Regions from separate parts of the Homo sapiens genome. Here regions 1, 2, 3, 4 and 6 are each linked to region 5. The links are contacts of gene promoters, found by promoter capture Hi-C in blood cells and fetal thymus (Javierre and others, 2016). All regions are on one chromosome and are shown on one strand. The core of a region is centred on a gene start or on the middle of the fragment in contact, and the rest is flanking DNA. Distances in the headings are between cores, read along the strand shown.

Region 1 (3,535 bases), core at 604-3,103, 360 kb after region 5:
ACGCCTTATTCACTGGAGTGAGGCTCCTCAGGCTGTGGCCCTAGGTGATTGGCACCCTCGCTGGTTCCCCTCCCATCAGGCTGCTGCCCTGAGCGGGTCCCAGGCTGCTGCCCTCAGCCTGGCCCCCAGCCGTTCCTCTGCATTAGCTGTCCTGATTGCCCTTCTGCCGGCTGCCCAGCTGCACCATCATGTCCCCAGGTGCCGTCAGAGCCCCTTTCAAAAGGCCAACCTTGTTCTTTTAGCCTTTGTACTGCGTTTCCTTACTTAATTTCCAAATCGAGGGTCCCGTCCTTCCTTCTTCAAACATTTTTCTTCTTTCCTCCCTTTCCCAAACACCTTCAAATCCATGCCAAACACTAGAAAGAGAGAAGTAAGAAGTAAGTGAACTGGAGAGCTGAACTGGGGGGGGGGGAAATGAAGCTTGGCAAGGCAGGTCCCAGGATGTCCCAGGAGAATAAAAGACATGCTGTCCTGCAGCAGAGGGGTAGGGAGTGGCAGAGCCATTTATAAAACACCTTCCAAGTGCCAGGCCTGAGAGGAAACGTGAGGACCAAGCAGGGAAACAATAGGAATAGACTCAGAGGGGTTAAGTAACTTGTACAAAGTCACACAGCTAGGAAAATAGCAGAGCCAGGATTTGAATCCAGAAATGGCTGACCCTGTTGCATCTACCATTCTAAGCTATGCTGACCACATCTCATCAAGTCAGTGATCAAAAGAACAGAAAATAAAGATAGAGAGGATTAGTCATACATCCCTTTTCCCCTTTATTTTATGGGACTGTTTTTAAGGAGCACCTTCTAGTGTGTCTGTATGAGGGAGTTGGAGAGACCTTCCTTTTCCAGCACTGGGACAACCCAGCTGTTTATAAAATTCCTCCCGAGGGCCTGCCCTGCCCTGGCTGCTTTACGAGGCAGAAAGGGCCTGGTGTGTGTCTGCTGGTGTACTCTGCAGATGGCATGTGTGCTGTGTGCTGAAGTTTCTGCTGGGAATTAATCAGCTCCTCCAGACAGCTGGTCCGCATGCCTAATAATATTTGCAAGTCGGGTTTTATGTTACCCACAGGCCACAGCCATGCTGCATCTTGATTATGGGAATGCAGGCGGCATTCGGAAACATGCACCAAACACAGATATTTTAGGACCATGAATGACAATTGTTTTCAAAACAGTTGTGAGTTTCCCATCTCAGCGTGCACGGAAATATCTGTCACCCCTTGGGCAGATGAGGTGGCATTGCATAGGGCACAAGCAGAATTGGAGTGTGGAGCTGGGTTCCACAGTCCTTCCTGTGCTCCTTACTTCGCACCATCCCAGCTACCCAGGACTGAGCAGCAGCCCATGTCAGGGAGGTGGTCAAGGCCAGGCCCTGAGCCTGTGAGGTGGTCTTCCACTGACAGCACTCTAGAAGCAACTAGAAATTTGGGGCGATTGCTTATTCTCTATTCCCTGGACATCTCACTCAATTACAGCAGATAGTTCGTCTTTAGTTACAAACACTTTGCTAAATTCTGCCCAATCAGAGTCTCTAAATAATGCCAACATCAGTTATTTGAGTGCCTTATCTATGAAAGGACTTTACTAGGAGCTACTGATATCAAGAAGCCTAAGACTGCACGACAGTCAGCAAGCATGAGGAGGAAGACGTGGGGGATTGTTGAAGTCAGATGGAACTGGTTTTGAAATCCAGCGCTACCACCTGATGTTCTGGGGTCTTAGGCAAGTTATTTAACTTTTGCCTACCTCAGTTTACTTATCTGTAAAATGGAAAGACATTTTGTCTGCTGTATGCATTTTTGCAAAGATTAAGTGAAACAATGCATGTAAAGTGTTTAACAGGGTACCCAGCACATAGTGATAAATGTTGCTTGTTACTGTTGGTATATCTGGTACAATACTAAGTTCTTGGGGAATAAACAAATGAGTGAATGGATTGTAGATACATGGAAAGTCTCAAACACTATTCAGGAAAGGGAGAGAAGAATCAAAGATAATTCCCAAGTAGTCAGATGCAGGTGATTGTGAGAATGGCATTACCAATAACAGAAATGAGTACTTGGGAAGATCTTACTTTCAGAGAAAGAGGATGCATTTGGGTTTGGATCTGTTGAGCTTGAGGTGGTGGTCTTGGTCCTCCAAGCCCAGAAAGATGAGTCGGGGTGCCCTCACTGGGTCTCACTGCCACAGCTGGGCCCTCAGCCTTCCAGCCCTCCCCTGAGTTCTGGTCACAGCCACCTCCCTACCCCACCACTGCACCTTCTTCCCAGAATCATTCCAGAACTCACCACAGGCACCACAAGGATCTGCTGTCCATCTTCTTGTCCATACCACACCTGTCTCCTGTGACCCCCGACATAGGCAATGTCACAAGCCTTGCTTCTGGAAATTCACAGCCCCTCCAGCCCTCACTTCCTTCAGAGATTGCACAAGCAGGAGAGAAGCAGTGGGAAAATCCTCTGCAGACTCTAGTTTTTTCTTCATGAGCTTTCAGTGCCGACTAATGTTGATTTAAACCTAACAAGTTCAGACAGACATGGCTGTGTGTAAGCATAACTTCCTTTTGTGGATACCTTTTTGTTCTTTATGAGCTATAACACACATACAGTAAAACGAACAAATCTGAAGTGTGCAGCCCGATGAATTTTTATGTACATATATGCCCCTGAATCCACCCCGAAGATAAAGATACAGAATACCTCCAGCACTCCAGAAGACCCCTTATTCCCACTCCCAGTCAGTAACCACCCCCACAAATAGCCTTTTTTCCCCTTTTCACCATAGATTGGTAAGTTTTGCCTGTAAATGAACATCACAGACATGAATCCTATAGTATTACTCTTGTGTCTGGCTTCTTTCCCATTATGTCTGTGAGATTCTTCCATATTGCTGCATGGAACAGTAGTTCTTTTCATGGCTGAGTAGTATTCCACTGTACAAATATATCACAGAGCCTCCATTCTACTGTTCCTGAACATTTGGGGTTATTTCCAAATTGGGGCCATTATAAATACGGCTGCTGTGGTGATACACACATGCCCTCATCTCTCTGGGCTGTGTTCTCCAGTGGAATTGGTAATTACAGGGCAAACCTAGGTTAGCAATTGCAGTTACTGCCTAACAGATTTTGTGGACATATTTTTAAAAAGGTGAATACACACTTAGTGTGTCATTTGCCAGTACTGTACTTGCCTCTAAGCTGCTAGTGAGGCAGCCTAGTGAGACTGAGGAACCAGGGGTTGGACATTAGGATCCCTGGCTTTGAATCAGCTCTGTCACTTACAAGCTTGGTGTCCGCAGGCCAGTTACTTAAGCTCTTTGAGCCTCATTTTTATCATCTGTAAAATGGTGATAATAAAAATGATCACCTCACATCATTAGTGTGAAACTTACATGGGCTATCTATAAAAGTTCTTTGAGAGTTGTGAAATGTAAAAATCATCCTTATCACCTCAACTTTTTGTATTTGACATACATTTTCCTTGAAAACAGTCTAAAAAGTTTTTAAAGAGAATCACTATTAGTAATAAATAGGGAAA
Region 2 (3,434 bases), core at 703-3,202, 400 kb after region 5:
GTACCCATGTTGAACTACCCCAGCTGACTCATCATTAAGTAGAGACAAGCTGGACCCACCCAGCTCTGCCCAAATTTCAAATTTCTGAACAAAACAAATGACTGTGGCTTTAAGCCATTAAACCTTGGGATAGTTTACTTTGTAGCAATCAATCAATAGAATGTATACTCTATGCTAAATGTTGCATGAATCCATTCCCACATCTTTCTAGGGTGCCTCCTGGTGCTGCAGAGTCTAGGAAGCTAAAAACTACACTGCCCAGAGTCTCTTTTCATTAGGATCATGATTGTGAGTTAAGCTACACCAATTAGACTTATTTGCACAAAGCTTGGAAGGCAGAGGCCAATGTCTTGCAGCTTTTGGCTACTTTCTGCTGCAAAGCAAGATCATGGAGCTACTGATAGCCACTCTCCAGCTTCATGGGCATCAAGAATCTTGTGGACGTGGCAGTGGCTAGGTTCCTCTGCCTGGCAAATGCGGTGGTGGCAGTAATTCACGCTGTTCCTGGCTTGCTGACCACTTTCTGGCCTTGTCTTGCAGCCATGATGTTCTTGCAGTCAACAGTCCCAGTGGCAGCTTCCTGAGTCCTCCTTCCTGATTGTGGCAGAGGTGATAGCACCCCTGACAGATTGATTTTACCACATTCTGGGAGCCATCCTCGGAGGCCCAGCCTAGAGCCCTCTCTTCCAGCCTTTCCAACAAGTTTGCAATTCTTCATGTTATATTCTTTTTTGCTTAAAAACTCTAGCATGGTTTCTATTTCCTACACAGAACCCTGTAACAGATATCCAGGTGATCCCAAAGTTTTGTCTCTTCTCAGTCTTTCTTTTGTTCTTGCTTGTTTGCTTTCTCTCATTTAATCATTCCTTTAATAAATATTTATGGAATGTCTACTATGGGCCAGGCACTGCACTAGACCCTGGAGAAAAATCGATGAACTAAGCAGACATGGCCTCGCCCTCATGAGATGAGGCAGGGCAAAGACCATGAGGCAGCAAAAGACAACCCTTGGGTCCAGTCGGCCCCTGCTTGTTTTTGTATATAACGTTTTCTTGAAACACAGCACACTCATTCATTTATGTCTTGTCCATGGCTGGTTTTGCCCAACAATGGTAAAGTTGAGTAGTTGCAACAGAGACTATATGACCTACAATGCCGAAAATACTTACTATCTGGCCTTTTTTAGGAAAAGTTTGCCAGCTCCTGTATTAGATAAATAAAACGCCAAGTCATACTCCTTTGGTTCCCCACAGCCAATAAGTTGCTCTTTCTGTCAATTCTGCGGACACCAGGGGTCCCCAACCCTTGGGTCATGGAGTGGTACCAATCCGTGTCCTGTTAGGAACCGGGCCGCCCAGCAGGAGATGAGCGGCAGGTGGGTGAGCATTACTGCCTGAGCTCCACCTCCTGTCAGATCAGCAGTGGCATTTAGATTCTCAAAGGAGTCTGAATCCTATTGTGAACTGCATGAAAGGGATCTAGGTTGCAGGCTCCTTATGAGAAGCTAATGCCTGATGATCTGAGGTGGAATGGTTTCATCCCGAAACCCTCCCCCCACCCCCATGCCCACCACCAGGCTATGGAAAAATTGTCTTCCATGAAACTGGTGCTGGTGCCAAAAAGGTTGGGGACAGCTGGCAACACCACAGCACCATGCATGGTGCTAAGCACTTCATGAGAATCCTCTAAGTTAATTCTCAGAACAACCTTTGGGATACATTATTATTATCTCTGTTCTACAGACAAGGAGACTGAGATTTAGAGAGATTTGGGCTTAGGTGACTGGGAGGATGGTGATATGGAAAAGGAATAGAAAACAGGCAGAAGATGACAAGCTCAGTCCGAACTCACAGCACATGAGGCACCTGCAGAGAGGCACACGGGGCTATCCCGGTAGGTTTCAGGCTTGGTGTGAATTTCAAGTCTGGACAGCTTTTAAGTTCAAATCACAATTCTACCATTGACTAACTAGCTGTGTGACTTTGGGCAAGTTACTTCACTTTCCCTTCTGGCTTCTTTTATTTTTTATTTATTAATTTTTTTTTTTTTTGAGATGGAGTTTCACTCTTGTTGCCCAGGCTGGAGTGCAATGGTGTGTGATCTCGGCTCACTGCAACCTCTGCCTGCCTGGTTCAAGTGATTACCCTGCCTCAGCCTCCCGAGTAGCTGGGATTACAGGTGCCAGCCACCACGCCTGGCTAATTTTTTGTATTTTTAGTAAAGACGGGGTTTCACTATGTTGGCCAGGCTGGTCTCGAACTCCTGACCTCAGGCGATCCACCCACCTCGGCCTCCCAAAGTGCTGGGATTACAGGCTTGAGCCACCACACCTGGGCTATTTATTAATTTTTTAAAGAGACAGGGTTGCTCTGTCACCCAGGATGGAATAAAGTGGTACAATCATAGCTCATCACTGTAACCTCAAACTCCTGGGCTCAAGCCATCCTTCCACCTCAGCCTCTCTAGGGGCTAGGACTACAGGCATGCACCACCACACCCAGCTAATTTTGTGTGTGTGTGTGTGTGTGTGTGTGTGTGTGTGTGTGTGTTTTCTTTGGTCCAGGCAGGTCTCAAACTTCTGGACTCAAGTAATCCTCCCACCTGAACCTCCCAAGGCACTGAGATTACAGTTTTCTCATAAATAAAATGGGCTCTTGTGAAAACTAGAAAAAGTAATATGCAAACAGTATCTAGCATCATAGGGGCTAGGTACACAGATACATGTGCCAGGTATATGGTACGTGGTATATGTTTGATACGTGTTGGCAACTTCTCCTTCCCCTTCAGTCTTATCCTTCACATGGTAGAAAGTAATCTTCCAGAATTACAGCTTTAATTATGTTATTTTCCTCCTCAAAAAATGTGGTAGTTCCCACTGACCCCCACTGTCATGGAAGGAGACCTGTTTGGAGGACCTGCCCAGCCACGCCTCTTTCTTTCAACTTCCACACACACTATCCCCTCTATTGAAGGGTGAGCACAGTAGGTTGTGTTTTCACTGTATAACACCCCCACCCTGCCCCCGACCAGAACAGCTGATATTTGAGGGGTAGACACCTGACCAAGGGACAAACAGTCCATTGGCCACTGGCTAATCAAATTGTCTCTGTCCAGTTGGATCCAAGAATCAAGAGACCGTGGTGACAGATGCTTGGCCTGCAGGTTGGCTTAAGTCAGGGCTAGAGTTGCCCTATGGGTGATCAGATGACACAGCGTGCAGAGAGAAGCAGTGGCAAGAAACCATGGGCCACCAGAGAGAGTGACTGGGAATAGCTACTGTCCACGCTCTAGCATCTGGAGGTCCAATAGCGCTACCCCACATCATTTCTGTGAGATTCCTCTGAAGCATTGTGTACATCAGCTCTTTACTTGAGCAAATCCAAGGGAGTTTGGTCCACTACAGTCTGGCTCCACTGTCTGGCCAGGCTCATCTG
Region 3 (3,415 bases), core at 434-2,933, 380 kb after region 5:
TAGCATAAAGAAAATGCCCTCATTTTACCACTTAGACCAGGATTCATTCATTCAGCGTAGCTTCAGTCACTGTGAACTGTGCCAGGCATTTTCCTCTATCGGGGAGATAGTGCAAATAAGACCCTCATACTCTAAACAAGCCTTGATTAGTACCTGCCTCAGGCTAGGCATTGTTAGCACAGTGGGCAAGTAAATAAATTTAGTCCCTATGTTCATGGATATTACAGTCAGATAGATAAAATGTGCATCAAATCCAGGAAGAAACCAGCCTTCTTTATTCCTTGTTTATTATCAGAGGGAGTCATCCTGAAAGGATGGACTACTTGGCTTTACCTACTATGGGGCCTAGATCTTCATTCTGATAATGGGGTCAGGGACACCTGATCCAGGTATCCACACACAGCAGGTCCTGAGAGGGACTCTTCAAGCTGAGTCCTGTGAGGATGGCAGAGGAGTTTGAAGTGAGAACTAACTCCAGCGGCTCCTGCAGAGAGAGCTGTGAGCAAGTGCTGGTCTGCAGTGGGCTGTGATAACTGCCTCTAGCTGTGGAGGAGTGCTGGAGAGGGGGCTGTGTAGGGAAGGCAAGTAAGCCAGACCTTGGAAGCCAAGTAGGTTTCCTCAAGCCCAGAAGGCGGGAAGAGCATCCCAAGGTCTGGCACGTGGGAAGGCACATAGGCCTGGGAGGACAGTTCCAGGGACCACAGGATGAATCTGAGAAGATGCCATGTGCAGGGGCACACCTGGAGATGTGACTGGAAGGGTGGCCGAGAGCCTGCGTTGGGGCCTTGCTGGTTGGCAGTGGCAACCAGGGAACCGTGTCCTCATTGGGGGTGTCGTGAGCTGGTCCTCATTCAAAGAAAGCCACAAAAAATTGTTCCCAGGCCTGTTCCTAGCCATGGGTTCTTCCTGGGTTTTGCTTTTTAACATAGCTATAATCCTATTTAATTGGGTTTGTGAATCCAACAGAAAACTCTTCTTGAGGGAGAAGCTTTTACAGAGGGATTCCAATTATAGGATTATTACCCTAACGAAGGATAATAATTCCTAAGGAACAAGAGGTTTCACGAAGCTTCCTTCAGATGTCACTGTGAAGGCAAAGAAGGACCTTCCTCTCTGCATTCTTGCTATTTGTTGGTGTGGCAAGTCAGTCAGTGTGCGCTGAGGGGTCCTTCTCAGCTTCCCACGTTGCGTCTTTGTGCCTGTTGCTGGTACCTCAGGACAGACTCCCAGTCCCGGTCCGTCATGATTTCCATTCTGCATTTTGATGTAGTCATGTCTCATGTCTCAGTTGGCTAGAGTATATTTTGAAGTAATTCTTTTTTGGAGAACAGTAGATGGTGGTACATTTTTCTGAGTCTTCCATACCTGAGAATAGCCTGCTGTTTCCTTGACACATAAGAAAGCTCCTTTGCCTGGTAGGTGAAGATGGAGGTGCGGGAGGAGGGGGTGACATATAAATTGGTTTTATAAAAGCTTTCCAGGCATCTTTGCCCAGCGTGAAAGAAGGTCCAGAAGTGACAATCCCAGAAGGAACTTAGAGTGGAGTATGTGAGGTGTGACCAAATAAAGGGCAAAGGGAGGCGGAGATGTTAGAACATTGGCAAGTTGTGTGAGAGGAGTGGACAAAAGAAGGGAAGACGACAATCTCAAACTGAATGATAACCTGGAAGCCGAAGGAAAAAATACTGAAATATGATGCTGAGATTAACGGGGGTGGTAGAGAAAAGTTACATCACCTTACCAGATGAGGAAGGTTGCTTTCGAGATGTGTAACAAGTATGGATGCAGTTCCAAAGAAGAGCTCCATCAGTTCCCCGCTAGCAGCCTGAGCTGAACGCATTCTCTGCATTGCAGTCTAGCTTGCTTTTCTGCAAGCAAGAGTTCAGAAGCTTTCTTTACTTCAAGATTAGAACTGATTTCATACTGATGGATTGTTGTATGTGAGAAATAAAAAGACTTAAGTAAAAGCAGTTTTCTGGGGTTGATGCATAAAATCAGTTATGCATTTTTACCTGTCATTTCACCTTAATACCTTTCTCAAATCCTTCTTTTCCCCTCTGCTTCCAGTTTCTCCCCGCCTCCCCACCACCCACCCACCCACCATTCTATCATTGTTGCCAACAGAGTTAGTATTCTAGAAAACACAGACCTGGTTATCTCACCCTGCTAGTTAAAAACGTCCACGGCTTCCCTTTGCCTTTCAGATAAATCCTAGAAAACGTAATTCTACATAGTTCTTCATAACTCTTTTTCTGTAGTCATTCCACAAATATTTATTGTGCACCTACTATATGCCAGGTACTGTTGCAAGCACCAAGAATACAGCAGTGAAGCAATAGACAAATGCTGCTGCCCTCATAGACTTCCATTCTTCTTTGAGGAGACAAACAATAAACAAAGATAAATAAGCAAAATATATTGAATGTTTGCTGCTGGTAACAGCTAGGGAGAAAAATAAAACAGGGAAGGGGAGAGAGGGGAGAGTGGCAAAGGAGCACCTCACTGGTGAGTAGAAGACCTAAAGGAAGCAAGAATCCAGCCAGGTGGGTATCTGGGAGCACAGCCTTCCATCAGGGGAAGGGAGAGTGCAGAGACCCTCCAGAATCAAAGGAGGCCAGCATGGCTGGAGCAGAGGGAGCAGGAGGTCCCAGAGGCCCCAGGGGCAAATCAGATAAGGCCTTTCTAGCTCATGGTTGAAACTTTTGCTTTTAGTCTTAGTGAGGTGGGAAGTGAGGGGATTTGAGCAGGAGAGTGACATGATTTCTCTCTTGCTGTCTTCCATCCTTCACACGTTACCAAGACACATCAAGAGATGTCTCTTGAACATGCAGGTCTCTCTTTGTGGCTCCCCTGTCTGCCTCAGAACCCTTCAAAGCCCAACTGAACATCATCTGCTTTGGAAAGCCTTCCCCATGTCCAGACCAAATGGGGTGCTCCTTCTGCTTGCCTCCATGACACCTAGCATATTTCTGTTGGGCCCCCCGTTTGTGTGTATTTCTCAGCAGCTTCAGAGAAGGGAGTCCCTTTGATGGATTCCCGAGGTCCAGCACAGGGTCCACCCCATAGTAGACTGTCAGTAAGTATAAGCAAATAAATGAGTGAATGAAACAGAAAAAAAAGAACTCACCTATGAGGTTTTTGAAACAAGGTTTTTAAATTTAGCCCATAGCCTGCAAAGCCTTTTAACTGCATTCCATCATCTTCACACATGGATATATATTTTCCTAGCCACAAGGTAGCCTCTGTCCTCAAAGTTCTTCTGGAAAATTGACCCTGTGATCATTTCAAACATCATGTTCCAACACTATTCTAGGCAGAGTGTCCTGGCTATTCTGTGCCCTGGCTCTTAACCGAACACCTGTTTTGTGGATTTGGCAGGACCTGGTAGAACAGGAACACTTTCTTTTTTTTTTTT
Region 4 (3,478 bases), core at 211-2,710, 430 kb after region 5:
CTAGCCTGCTTATTCTGGAACTTTACCATTAGAAATTCATCCCATTGGGTTCAACATTGCCTTGATCTTTTCTTTCTCTTTTACAGTATGTGCTGGTTATAAGTTTGTGGCCTCTTGACTTTAAATTCACCATTCATTGCATGATCTTCAAAAATGGAGCTGTGCCCTTCAGATATTTTTCTCTTGCATCTGGCACAATGTTAAGCTGTGTGTATATATGTTTAGTCATTTAAATATATACTGTGGTTTGCGGCTTCAGTAGAGGGGTCTGGGGAGACACTGCAGGAGGAAGGGGTTTCTGTCCTGGTTCCCTTATGCTTGCTTGGCAGACACCTGAAGCTTAGCAGGCTCCTGTGGCACAGGCTGCTTCTCCTATGCCTGGCTCCTATAATGCATGGTGACCAGAGGCACCCAGTGGCCAGCAGCTTCCTGGGCACTTCACTCACCTTGGGTGGTTTTGTTGCAGAATGCATCTGGTACAATATCTTCCTGTGATCAGCTTTTCCGGACACCCTAGAGGATGGATTTCCAGGAAGTTTCACCTCTCTGTTCTCTCTGTCATCCCCTATGCCAGAGCTGAGCCTTCAAAAAGTCTGGATCTCAGCCCTGGGGGGCCTCTTTCTTGGCCTCTATCTCAGCTCTAAAGGTAGTGGCTGCTCCTTATAGCTGCCATTCGGATATTCTTTAGAGTTCTTTTTACATCTTACCAATCAATTCTTTGTTACTTTAGTCTCCTGTTATAATGAGTAATTCTTTATATTACACTTTCCCTGTTCAAACTACTGTATAGTTTCTCTCTCTTGATTGCATACAGACTCATATAGAACACAAATGTCCTTGGGGTAGAACTCACAGGGAGTCAATGACACTTTAGTGTAAAATAGTTTGTTTTGTTTTCCTGGCACCTAGAGAGCAATAGTTGCCTTGGAGCTGAGCGAGGGGACAGTAAGAGGAGAAACACCCAGCCAGAGATGATGGGAAAATCCTAGTAAAAAACTTTGCCTATTTCACAATTTTGTCATGAGCTTGACTATAGCTGTTAAGTGTTATTCTTTATTTCAGTGCAAAATGTCTTTGGTTCCCTAGGGTCAGGCTAACAGCGCCAGAAATAGAATGAAAGCACTAGTTTTTCTGGTGAAGCAGCAACTATTGTACTTTGATAAGCTTAGTACGTTCCCCACTTTGTTGTTTTGTTTCTTAATCACACATAGAAATGTGTTGCCATATAAAACATAAAGCGGACAGCTCTGGACGTTTCATTTCATGGAACAGAGCTGGGCTACTCCTGGGTGTACATGATCACCTTCAGGCTGCAAGGAAAATGTGAATCAAAAACATGAGGATTATCAGACAATGAAACAGCTCAGTTCAGGAGAGGATTGTGTTGCCTTTCTCTGGGTGTTGTTAAAAATAGGATCGCAGATCATCTCTTTAGAATGGTGGAAATGTGGTCTTAATTAAAAGCTGGAGTAGGAACAAGGCAACAAAGGTCCCTTCCAACTTAAAAATCTTGTATATCAAAGTGATATATCTACATGATTAAAAAAGCAAATGGTACAGGAGGACTTATTTGGAAAATCAACTGTCCTCTCTCTTATCCTCCTTCTCTCATAGTCTACTGATTCCTGTTCCTCGACTGTCTTCATGTTATAAGGTTATACCCTTTTAAAATGTGTTCATTATCATTTTAATGGGTCCTTGGGAGGGAGTGGCAGAAACCCATGTGCCCAGTCCACCATCTTGAAAAATAAGCTTTCCTATTAAAATTGATTTTTTTTTTTAGGCAAGAACATAAGAAACAGAACCCAGTATTCTGAAAATACCCTGCTTACTAAGTCAAATGCACATATCTGTGCCATTTAAGCCTGTAATGGAAACATTCTTCTTCCAGCTAGTCCAGTCCCTTTTTCTGAAACAGAGTCTCACTCTGTCACCCAGGCTGGAGTACAGTGGCACAATCTCGGCTCACTGCAGCCTCTGCCTCCTGGGTTCAAGCGATTCTCCAGCCTCAGCCTCCCAAGTAGCTGGGATTACAGGCGCCCACCACCATGCCTGGCTAATTTTTGTATCTTTAGTAGAGACGGGGTTTCACCATGTTGGCCAGGCTGGTCTCGAATTCCTGACCTCAGGTGATCCATCCACCTCGGCCTCCCAAAGTGCAGGGATTACAGGCGTGAGCCACTGTGCTCAGCCAGTCCACTCCTTTTGAACTTTTGGATAAATTTCTCTGTCCTACTGGCCACTTGGTGTTCTTCTCCTCCACCTATCTGGTGCTCTTTGGACAAACATTACCTTGAACATCTACATTTTTTTTTTTTTTTTTGAGACAGAGTCTCACTCTGTGACTCAGGGTGGAGTGCAGCGCCATGATCTTGGCTCACTGCAACCTCTGCCTCCCAGGTCCAAGCGATTCTCCTGCCTCAGCTCCCGAGTAGCTGAGATTACAGGCATGCACCACCACACCCAGCTGAGTTTTGTATTTTTAGTAAAGACAGGGTTTTGCCATATTGGCCAGGCTGGTCTCGAACTCCTGGCCTCAAGTGATCCACCTGCCTCAGCCTCCCAAAGTGTTGAGACTACAGGCATGAACACCTGCACCCTGATGAACATCTACATTTTAATTAAAACTTTCAATAGAAGTCAACCTTTATAATAAGCAGCTTGTATTATTATTACCAAAATTAAAATAGCAATATTGCAGATAGTGTAATGGCTACAACCCCAAAGTGCTATGTCCTACAAAAAGAGTCACAGCAACAAAGCAGCTAGGACCCAAGGGGCATAAGTGTGGAGTCGTCGCACTGTGTCCTCCCACCCTCTTGAGCAAGGGTGGTTATCACGTCTCACAATCATTGGCTCTTCTACTAGGACCCATTATTGTAACCCCCCTACCTCTGCCCTTTGTGACAAAAAAAATGGAGGGCTGCGTGGTACATAAAAGAGAGAAATGAGGCTAAATTGTTCTTCATTCTACTGTTGGTTAATCCATCTACACTTCATCCCAATGTCTACTTTTCTCCCCAACTGCTGCAACACCACAGAAGGCCCCGCCCAACAGCCCCGAATGAGCCAAAGCTGTGCTTTAATTAGCCGGCAGCACTTCACTTAAGCTCATGTAATCTCACGGCCATTAATCTATCATGATCGTTACTAGGAATTGTTTTCAAGAAGGCTACGTAGAAAACACTCATAGAATGCACCTTTTTCTGGGCTGGTGTTAGTGACAGGGAAAGCGCTGGGACATCTACTTCTCCAAAAAATGCCATCAAAACTCCTTAGCACATAATACATTTTAGCAATCAGAGCCAGAATCCAAAAGCGTAATAAAAAAGGCAAGTGAAAATGCTTATAATTGTCATATTTTAAATGCCTTATTTCCTGCCAATCTTAGATCCATTCCCAGAGAAGCGAAAGTTACCCGCTCTGCCAGCGCCTTTGTCAGCTGCCAGCTGTTACTTCCCTGGAAAAAGGGTCAGAA
Region 5 (3,549 bases), core at 940-3,439:
CAAAACCTAAGAGAAATTGTTGCTAGCTGATCTGCCTCACAAGAAATACTAAAGGAGGATCTTCGGTCTGAAGATCTTCTGTTATGATAGTAACTTAGAAATACAGGAAGAAATGAAGAGGCCTGGACATAGTCAATATGTGGGTAAATATAAAGAATCTTATATTTTTCACTTTTCCTCAGGCATATTTTGATTGTTTTCAACAGCAAAATTTCAGGACAATAAGCATCACTAGAATGGTGCAATAGAAAGAATAAGCATTTTGACAACAGATCCGAGCTTTGCAACAGCTCTGTGATCTTACAGAACTTCCCATCATTTGATCTCCTCTGTAATATGGGATTAATAATGACCACCTTGTAAAGTTGTTTTGATAATTAAGATAATAACTAAAGCACCCTTGGGCCGGAGGTGGTGGCTCACACCTGTAATCCCAACACTTTGGGAGGCCGAGGTGGGCGGATCACTTGAGGTCAGGAGTTCAAGACCAGCTTGGCCAACAGGGCAAAACCCTATCTCTACTAAAATACAAAAATTGGCAAGGCATGGTGGTGTAGGCCTGTAATCTCAGCTACTTGGGAGGCTGAGGCACAACAATCGCTTGAACCCAGGAGGTGGAGGTTGCAGTGACCCAAGACTGCACCACTGCACTCCAGCCTGGAACGACAGAGCAAGGCTCTGTCTCTAAATAAATAAATAAATAAATAAATAAAGCACCCAGCACAGTATTTGGCATATAGCAGCTATTCAGTAAATGCTAGGTATTATCAGCTATTTCATGAATTTATGAATTCATAAAAGCAAAGTTAAGCACAAAATAATCCATTTTTACCGCTCTTTGTGTAACACCTTTCTGTGTTTGTTGTTGTTTATTTTGTACACATCTCTCTGTGTTGGAATACCTGCTGTCTAAGAACATCTAGCTGCTCTCAATCCACAATGACAGGCTTTTTCTCAAGAACAGTGGAATAGGAGGCACACAGACAGGGGAGTGAGCCCCTCCACAGAACAGCAGCAATGACCTGGACCACTGACATTCTTGTCATGATTCTTTTGAAATCGTAAATCTCTCTCTATATGGTATAACAATTTGCAATTCCTTGTTTTCTAAGATGTATCTACTACTTATGGCCCCAATCAACTACTAACTCACAGACACACCCATGTTTCCTAAATCACCAGATTTCAAAAGCTCTGTCTCCTGTCTACCGTGTAAATAAATCAACAATTAAGTCACCTTGTTTTCATCTTCTTATTTAAAAAGACTAAGGCAATGAATTGCTCATAGTAAGTTAAACTTCCCTTTGGTCTGTTGCTTGAAATATTTCCAAGCCTCCATGGACTGCTTCCCTTTCAGGAAGTGAGAAACACATGGACTGAGAAAAGACAAAGTAAGAGAATGTTTTAAAAATGTAAATGTTTATTCCAAAGTGCCCCTTTCAAAGAAGGACAGACTTAACTGGAAAAAGTCGCTGTCAAAATTCGTTTTTCCAGGGGCTCTTTGCACATTTTGCAAACAGCAATGGAAAGTTGAGCCTCCGCCTGGAGCTGGCATGGAGAGACACTGTTTCCCGCACTGTGCCAGGCTGTGCCTTAGGCTCTGCTATAAAAATATATAGGAAAGCGTGGCGCTGTTCAAACATAGCGAAAGGAGGCTTCGGTGCCATTACCTGAAAGGGAGAAATGTTTTACATTTCTTTCATGAAGCTCATGAACGAACACAGAACTTTATTTGGAAAGAAAAATGGCTTCCTATTTCTCATGAAGTAGTTCCACAAGCCATTGATCCTCCCTCTTCCTCCATCTTCGTTTTGTTTAGTTTTGGGCCTGAAGAACTAAGGATGGCCATAGCCTCCGGAAGGGAAAGAGTCGGGGGAGAGGACTTACCTGTGCCAGGCCAGCAAGCAGAAGAGTGGAGAAGAGGAGCCCCTGCATGTCGCTGGGACCGTGGAGCCACCCTGAGGGGTAGAGAAGTCGCCGCTTGTTCATTGCTCCGGGTACACAAAGCTCCCCTGTCTCCTCTGCAAACCCCACGCTCCTCTGCACAAGAACACACACCCTCTACCTCCCACACTACCAACTTTCAGCCTGCACTTTCATTTTTAAGGATCCGTTTTAATACCCTGTTTACTTTCATGGGACTCTTCTAATAACCTGCCTTCGCAGTGAGCGTGTCACAGGTCAGGAATGGGCGAGCACTTTCCTCCCGGGACTCAGGAGGGCAGGGCAAGTAGTGACTGTTCTCTAAGTGACTGTGTTACCTGTTCCTGGAGAGCAGAGCCTGCCCCCGACAACGGGTGGGGTCCCACGTCATTCCCTTCCTTGCCCTCAGCTTCTCCATCTGTGTTTGCCCTGCTCCGGGTCCTCTCTAGGCTGCTTCCTTCTCCAGCTTCACCCTCACGTACAGAGTGCAGGCCTGGCCCCCCCACCAACAGCACCCATCGCAGCCTAGCCCTGGCTTTCCCCCTCCATATTAATGGCAGGCTCTCGAAGGACCCTGACTCCCCCAGCTCAGATTCTCTCGGAGGCACCCACAGTGCCCTGGGCTCACCTTTATCCCAACACCTTTCTCATGCCAGGTGGACTGTGAGTGGAAAAAATACAGATGGAGCAGGGGGCGGACTCCTACAGTACCTGGCCTGAGAGACGCCTCTTTTTGTGGCCACAGTTCCATGACAGATGACAATGAAGTTAACCTCCATTTTTCCGGGCCTAAAATAAAACAATTACACTGGTAGCAATCATTCATTTAATGAATTAAGATTAAAAATAAGCCTGGCCAATATGATGAAATCCCGTCTCTGCTAAAAAAAAAAAAAGACACAAAAATTAGCCAGGTGTGGTGGCAGGCGCCTGTAATCCCAGCTGCTTGGGAGGCTGAGGCAGGAGAATCGCTTGAACCTGGGAGGCGGAGGTTGCAGTGAGCCGAGATCGCACCATTGCACTCCAGCCTGGGGGACAAGAGTGAGAATTATTCTCAAAAAAAAAAAAAAGATTAAAAATAAAATTTTGACAGGTTTGTACTCCTCTTCTTCATACTCACCTCCCTGAAAGGTGTGACCACCAGCGCATCTCCTCCTGTGTCATCATGTGGGACCTTCGCTTCTCCATGTTCTCAGCCTGGGTCTGTGTTCCCATCTTCATTTGCAGCTGCCGTGGTGCTTTGTCCCTCTCAGGTCCCTGAGGCGTCCCACCTGCCTGCCCCCATCCCAAGGCCTATTTCTATTTCCTTTGATCAGTTACCTATCCCTCCTTTTCCTGCTGCCTTACCTATCCTATACCGATTGCTCACCTTTGTTACTGTTCAAGGCAGTCACTACTGTATAAAGACAACATCAAGCCTCGCTTAGGCCTGAGCTGAGGGCCTGGGAAAAACGAGGCTGTCCTCCACCACAGAGAATCTGGTGTCCTTGGAGAACCATGGACACCCTAAAACCTGCAGATCACACAGAGCTTACTAAGGAGTCATTAAACTGTAAGTATATGCACATCAAACAACAAGGAATACCCACTGCAGTTAGGATGCCAACGCCTTATCTTGCCTCCCTA
Region 6 (3,511 bases), core at 311-2,810, 500 kb after region 5:
TTTGGCTGGGCACAGTGGCTCACACCTGTAATCCCAGCACTTTGGGAGGCCAGGGTGGGCAGGTTGCCTGAGGTCAGGAGTTTGAGACCAGTGAAATCCCGTCTCTACTAAAAATACAAAAAAAATTATCTGGGCATGGTGGCACATGCCTGTAATGCCAGCTACTTGGGAGGCTGAGGCAGGGGAATTGCTTGAGCCAGGGAGGTGGAGGTTGCAGTGAGCAGAGATAGCACTACTGCACTCCAGCCTGGGCAACAGAGCAGGACTTCGTCTCAAAATAAAAAAAATTTTTTTTTTTTTGTAGAGACAGGGTCTCATTATGTTCAACCCAGGCTTGTCTTGACCCCCCTAGCTCAAACAATCCTCCCACCTTGGTTTCCCAAAGTACTAGGATTGCAGGCGTGAGCCACCTCACCTGGCCCAGATCAGTTTCTTTTAGTTGTATCTGGCCAATCTCCAAAACATCAACAATGAAAAAGATTTTTAAATACTGTGATATTCATCTTCCTGTCACCATTCTTTTTTTTTTTTTTTTTGAGACAGTCTCACTCTATCGCCCAGGCTGGAGTACAATAGTGCCATGATCTCAGCTCACTGCAGCCTCTGCCTCCCATGTTCAAACGATTCTCCTGCCTCAGCCTTCCTAGTAGCTGGGACTACAGGCACCCACCACAAGCCCAGCTAATTTTTGCGTTTTTAGTATAGACTGCATTTCACCACATTGGCCAGGCTGGTCTCGAACTCCTAACTCCTGACCTCAAGTGATCTGCCCGCCTCAGCCTCCCAAAGTGCTGGGATTACGGGTATGAGCCACTGCGTCCAGCCCGTCCTATCACAATTCTGATTCCACAAAAATGGCACTTCTTGGAATAATACTTAGCTGTTTGGAACATCTGCATTACCTTTTGGATGTAGACATGAGAAACGTATGGTCATGCTGGCTCGCCTTTTGAGGGAGGCTGCACGAGGCACTTTAGCATACAAAGGAGCCTCGCTCAGTCAACACAGCTGGCATGCTGGGAGGTATTGTGCCCAGGCAGGATAGCATGTTCCTAACTGCATATGACTTCTTCCATTTTCTATTGGAAAATGCTTTAGGATAGGATCACTTTTGGATAGGGTACTTGGCGGCAGGTGGGTGGCTTTTGCAGACCCTGGCAGTCACATGTTGCCAACTCACTGTGCATTTGCTCCCAAATTCTTAGCCTCAAGCAAGCAGGTGGGATCTGTAAGAGGAACACTCAGTGTACTTTAGTTTTCTACTTAACTTTTCAAGGAATATAGGAGCATGGGTCCAGGTTATAGGTATTGGGTGATTAGGAAGTGATATTTGAGGCTTTGCTAAACAATGAAAGTCTTGGACCAAAGTGTACCTGGGCAGAGGTGACCATGTTCTGGGCCTGCCTGCTTTTTTTCTAGAAACTCTCTTATGGAAGGAGTAACTGCAGCCCCCAGATCTCCCAGGGCTTGTAAACGAAAACCATAAGGGCACACATTTCTTGTCCCTTGCCTGACCTCCCTTTGCTCCCTTCACCAGGAAGGGGCTGATGGAAATCGGCAGCTGGGGAGAGAGGGGAGAGGGAGGGAGCTAGCGCGCGAGAGAACTCATGCCTGATGGATCCCATTAGGCTTAGCGTGCAAAGCAAGTTGAGATGAAGTAGCTGCTCTGGTATGCATCCAAAACTGCTGTTCTATTTTTAGTCCCTCCCGCGTGCTTCTTAGGCTCGCGTTGTATGCGCCTGGGCACCTGGATCAGCAGCAAAACATGGAACTGAGCCACTCATTTGTAAAAGTGGAAGGCAGGAGGCCATTGATGCAGGGCTTGTTTATTGCTGACAGGGAAGAGGGACCTGGAATGTTAATGAGGGTGGCTCTCTGAAGCATGCCTTCATGCTTAGCAAGGAGTTCAAAGGAGAAGGCAGACTCAGTCCTGTGCTGAACAAATGTGAACCGTTGATAGAGGGAAGGAGAAATCAATTATGCTGTCGCAGGCTTCCATGTCATTGTGTTGGAGTTGTTAGAAAAGGTAGGACAAGGACCAGATCCCAAAAGGAAACAAAGCCACATGGCCTTGAAGTATAACGAGTTTGCCATGGCAACTGATGGAAATGAGCCTCCCCGGCACCGAGCAGGTGTGTTATCTTACAGAATAAACACACTTCTCTCACTCCCTGGTTTTTATAATAAAACCTGTGTTTGGATTACTTTCCCCTCCTCTTTGTTACCCAGAGAAGTTGGCTGTTGCTCAATTAACCCAAGGCTCCGGTGAGGGAAATGTAATCAGTGTTATCAAAAGGGCTGCTTTTGAAAAGGCTGGCGCTAGACTTGGCTGCCAGCCTCATCGTCGAGCAGCAGCTGGGCCGCAGGTACCTGCCTGGCCTTTGCCACCTTCCAGGCGATGCCCTCCACTGCAAACCACTTGTTCTTGCCTTCACTGAGGTGTTAACAGTGAGGCCGGGCTCTCACACTGGGCAGTGGTCAAAAGCTGCATTCTTCTCAGGAGAGGAGAAACAGGTTTACGTGAGGCTGGGACCAGACCAATTTTCAGCATGCTGTATTGTCTGGGCTATGGGCCAAGGGTTCCTTGAGTTCAGGGATTAACTGATTCTATCTTCCAATCTGTTGTTATCTACAAGGTTCAGTTACTCAGAAACTTGAAGAAAGCTGCTACTTTCCTGAGATTTAAATTCCTCTCAGATGGGTTCTGGGGTGGTAGAGTCTCATGTCTGAAATGTACACAAATGGGGAGATTTTATAAAATCCTCTTGAGTTAAAAAAGTTTACTTTTAATTTTTACGAGGCCAAAATAACAATAAAGTTCAATAGCTATATTTTCATTGCTCTCATTTGTAATTAAAAAGTCCACTTTAGCTTCAAACTGATTTTCAAAATAAGATGCCCGTTCTCCATGGGCTCCTAGAACACAGATGGTTTCCAAACAAGACTGTGGTAAAACCAATGACCTGCGGAGAAATTCTCCAGCCAGGGCCAGCCAGCTGAGGGCTGCGCGTCAAGCAGCAGCCTGTGCTCGGCAGCACTAAGGGCCCTTCTCTGCTTCTGCCTGTGTTCCTACTTCCCTCCAACCAGATGCCCGGCACCACCCCCCTTACCCCTTCCATCAAGCCCTAGCCTCCCGATGATGCCTTGGCTGCCCCTTCACATGTCACCTTACCTTTGACCCTAAGAAGAAAAAAATGTCTGCCTGAAGAGCTAATTCCACCTACGGCATCAGTGGTGAAAAGGGTTTCATGGGATAATCCTCCAAGCCAAAACAGTATCCCAAGGCTTAGGCACTAAACCTCCCCACTCTTATTCCTAACACAACCATCAGACCCTCACCCAGATCACATTTACTCTTACTTTATATACATGGTTCTAACAAGAGCAATTTTCTGTTTTTCTAACGCTTGGTAGGTTAGAAGTTGCCAGTTTAGCAGGACAATAGGGAAGAAGGGTTAGAGGACCAGCATCTTGATGGAAATGACAGCTGACATTTTGACAAGGTGGTTTT

The links. Contacts are between HindIII fragments. The CHiCAGO score rates a contact against its expected background, and 5 or more counts as called.
Region 1: a fragment that was not itself captured here is called in contact with the fragment with the promoter of CCN6 in region 5 in 7 of 17 cell types (naive CD4 T cells, total CD4 T cells, naive CD8 T cells and 4 more); the score reaches 8.0 in naive CD4 T cells.
Region 2: a fragment that was not itself captured here is called in contact with the fragment with the promoter of CCN6 in region 5 in 1 of 17 cell types (non-activated CD4 T cells); the score reaches 6.7 in non-activated CD4 T cells.
Region 3: a fragment that was not itself captured here is called in contact with the fragment with the promoter of CCN6 in region 5 in 1 of 17 cell types (non-activated CD4 T cells); the score reaches 5.6 in non-activated CD4 T cells.
Region 4: a contact is called between a fragment that was not itself captured here and the fragment with the promoter of CCN6 in region 5, in 3 of 17 cell types (total CD4 T cells, activated CD4 T cells and non-activated CD4 T cells). The highest score is 7.1, in total CD4 T cells.
Region 6: a contact is called between a fragment that was not itself captured here and the fragment with the promoter of CCN6 in region 5, in 1 of 17 cell types (naive CD4 T cells). The highest score is 5.1, in naive CD4 T cells.

Annotation. Positions count from the first base shown.
Region 1 is chr6:111,688,979-111,692,513 of GRCh38, reverse strand. All of the region lies in intron 12 of FYN (FYN proto-oncogene, Src family tyrosine kinase), which reads left to right. It overlaps LOC105377945 (a long non-coding RNA gene), which reads right to left and starts at 2,661. Exons shown (of 3, transcript XR_001743812.2): 1 at 2,285-2,661; 2 at 265-356. The HindIII fragment of the contact is 2,862 bases long and covers 423-3,284 here.
Region 2 is chr6:111,648,033-111,651,466 of GRCh38, reverse strand. All of the region lies in intron 2 of LOC105377944 (a long non-coding RNA gene), which reads left to right. Among named protein-coding and RNA genes, the nearest start is that of TRAF3IP2, 44 kb to the right of the region's middle. The HindIII fragment of the contact is 3,246 bases long and covers 330-3,434 here.
Region 3 is chr6:111,669,449-111,672,863 of GRCh38, reverse strand. All of the region lies in intron 13 of FYN (FYN proto-oncogene, Src family tyrosine kinase), which reads left to right. Among named protein-coding and RNA genes, the nearest start is that of TRAF3IP2, 65 kb to the right of the region's middle. The HindIII fragment of the contact is 416 bases long and covers 1,476-1,891 here.
Region 4 is chr6:111,626,246-111,629,723 of GRCh38, reverse strand. No RefSeq gene overlaps it. Among named protein-coding and RNA genes, the nearest start is that of TRAF3IP2, 22 kb to the right of the region's middle. The HindIII fragment of the contact is 588 bases long and covers 1,167-1,754 here.
Region 5 is chr6:112,052,744-112,056,292 of GRCh38, reverse strand. CCN6 (cellular communication network factor 6) reads right to left here and starts at 2,189. Exons shown (of 5, transcript NM_198239.2): 1 at 1,888-2,189. The coding sequence starts at 1,935. The HindIII fragment of the contact is 6,629 bases long and covers 1-3,549 here.
Region 6 is chr6:111,550,712-111,554,222 of GRCh38, reverse strand. It overlaps TRAF3IP2-AS1. Among named protein-coding and RNA genes, the nearest start is that of TRAF3IP2, 53 kb to the left of the region's middle. RefSeq lists enhancers at 749-1,441, 1-3,511. The HindIII fragment of the contact is 4,095 bases long and covers 1-3,511 here.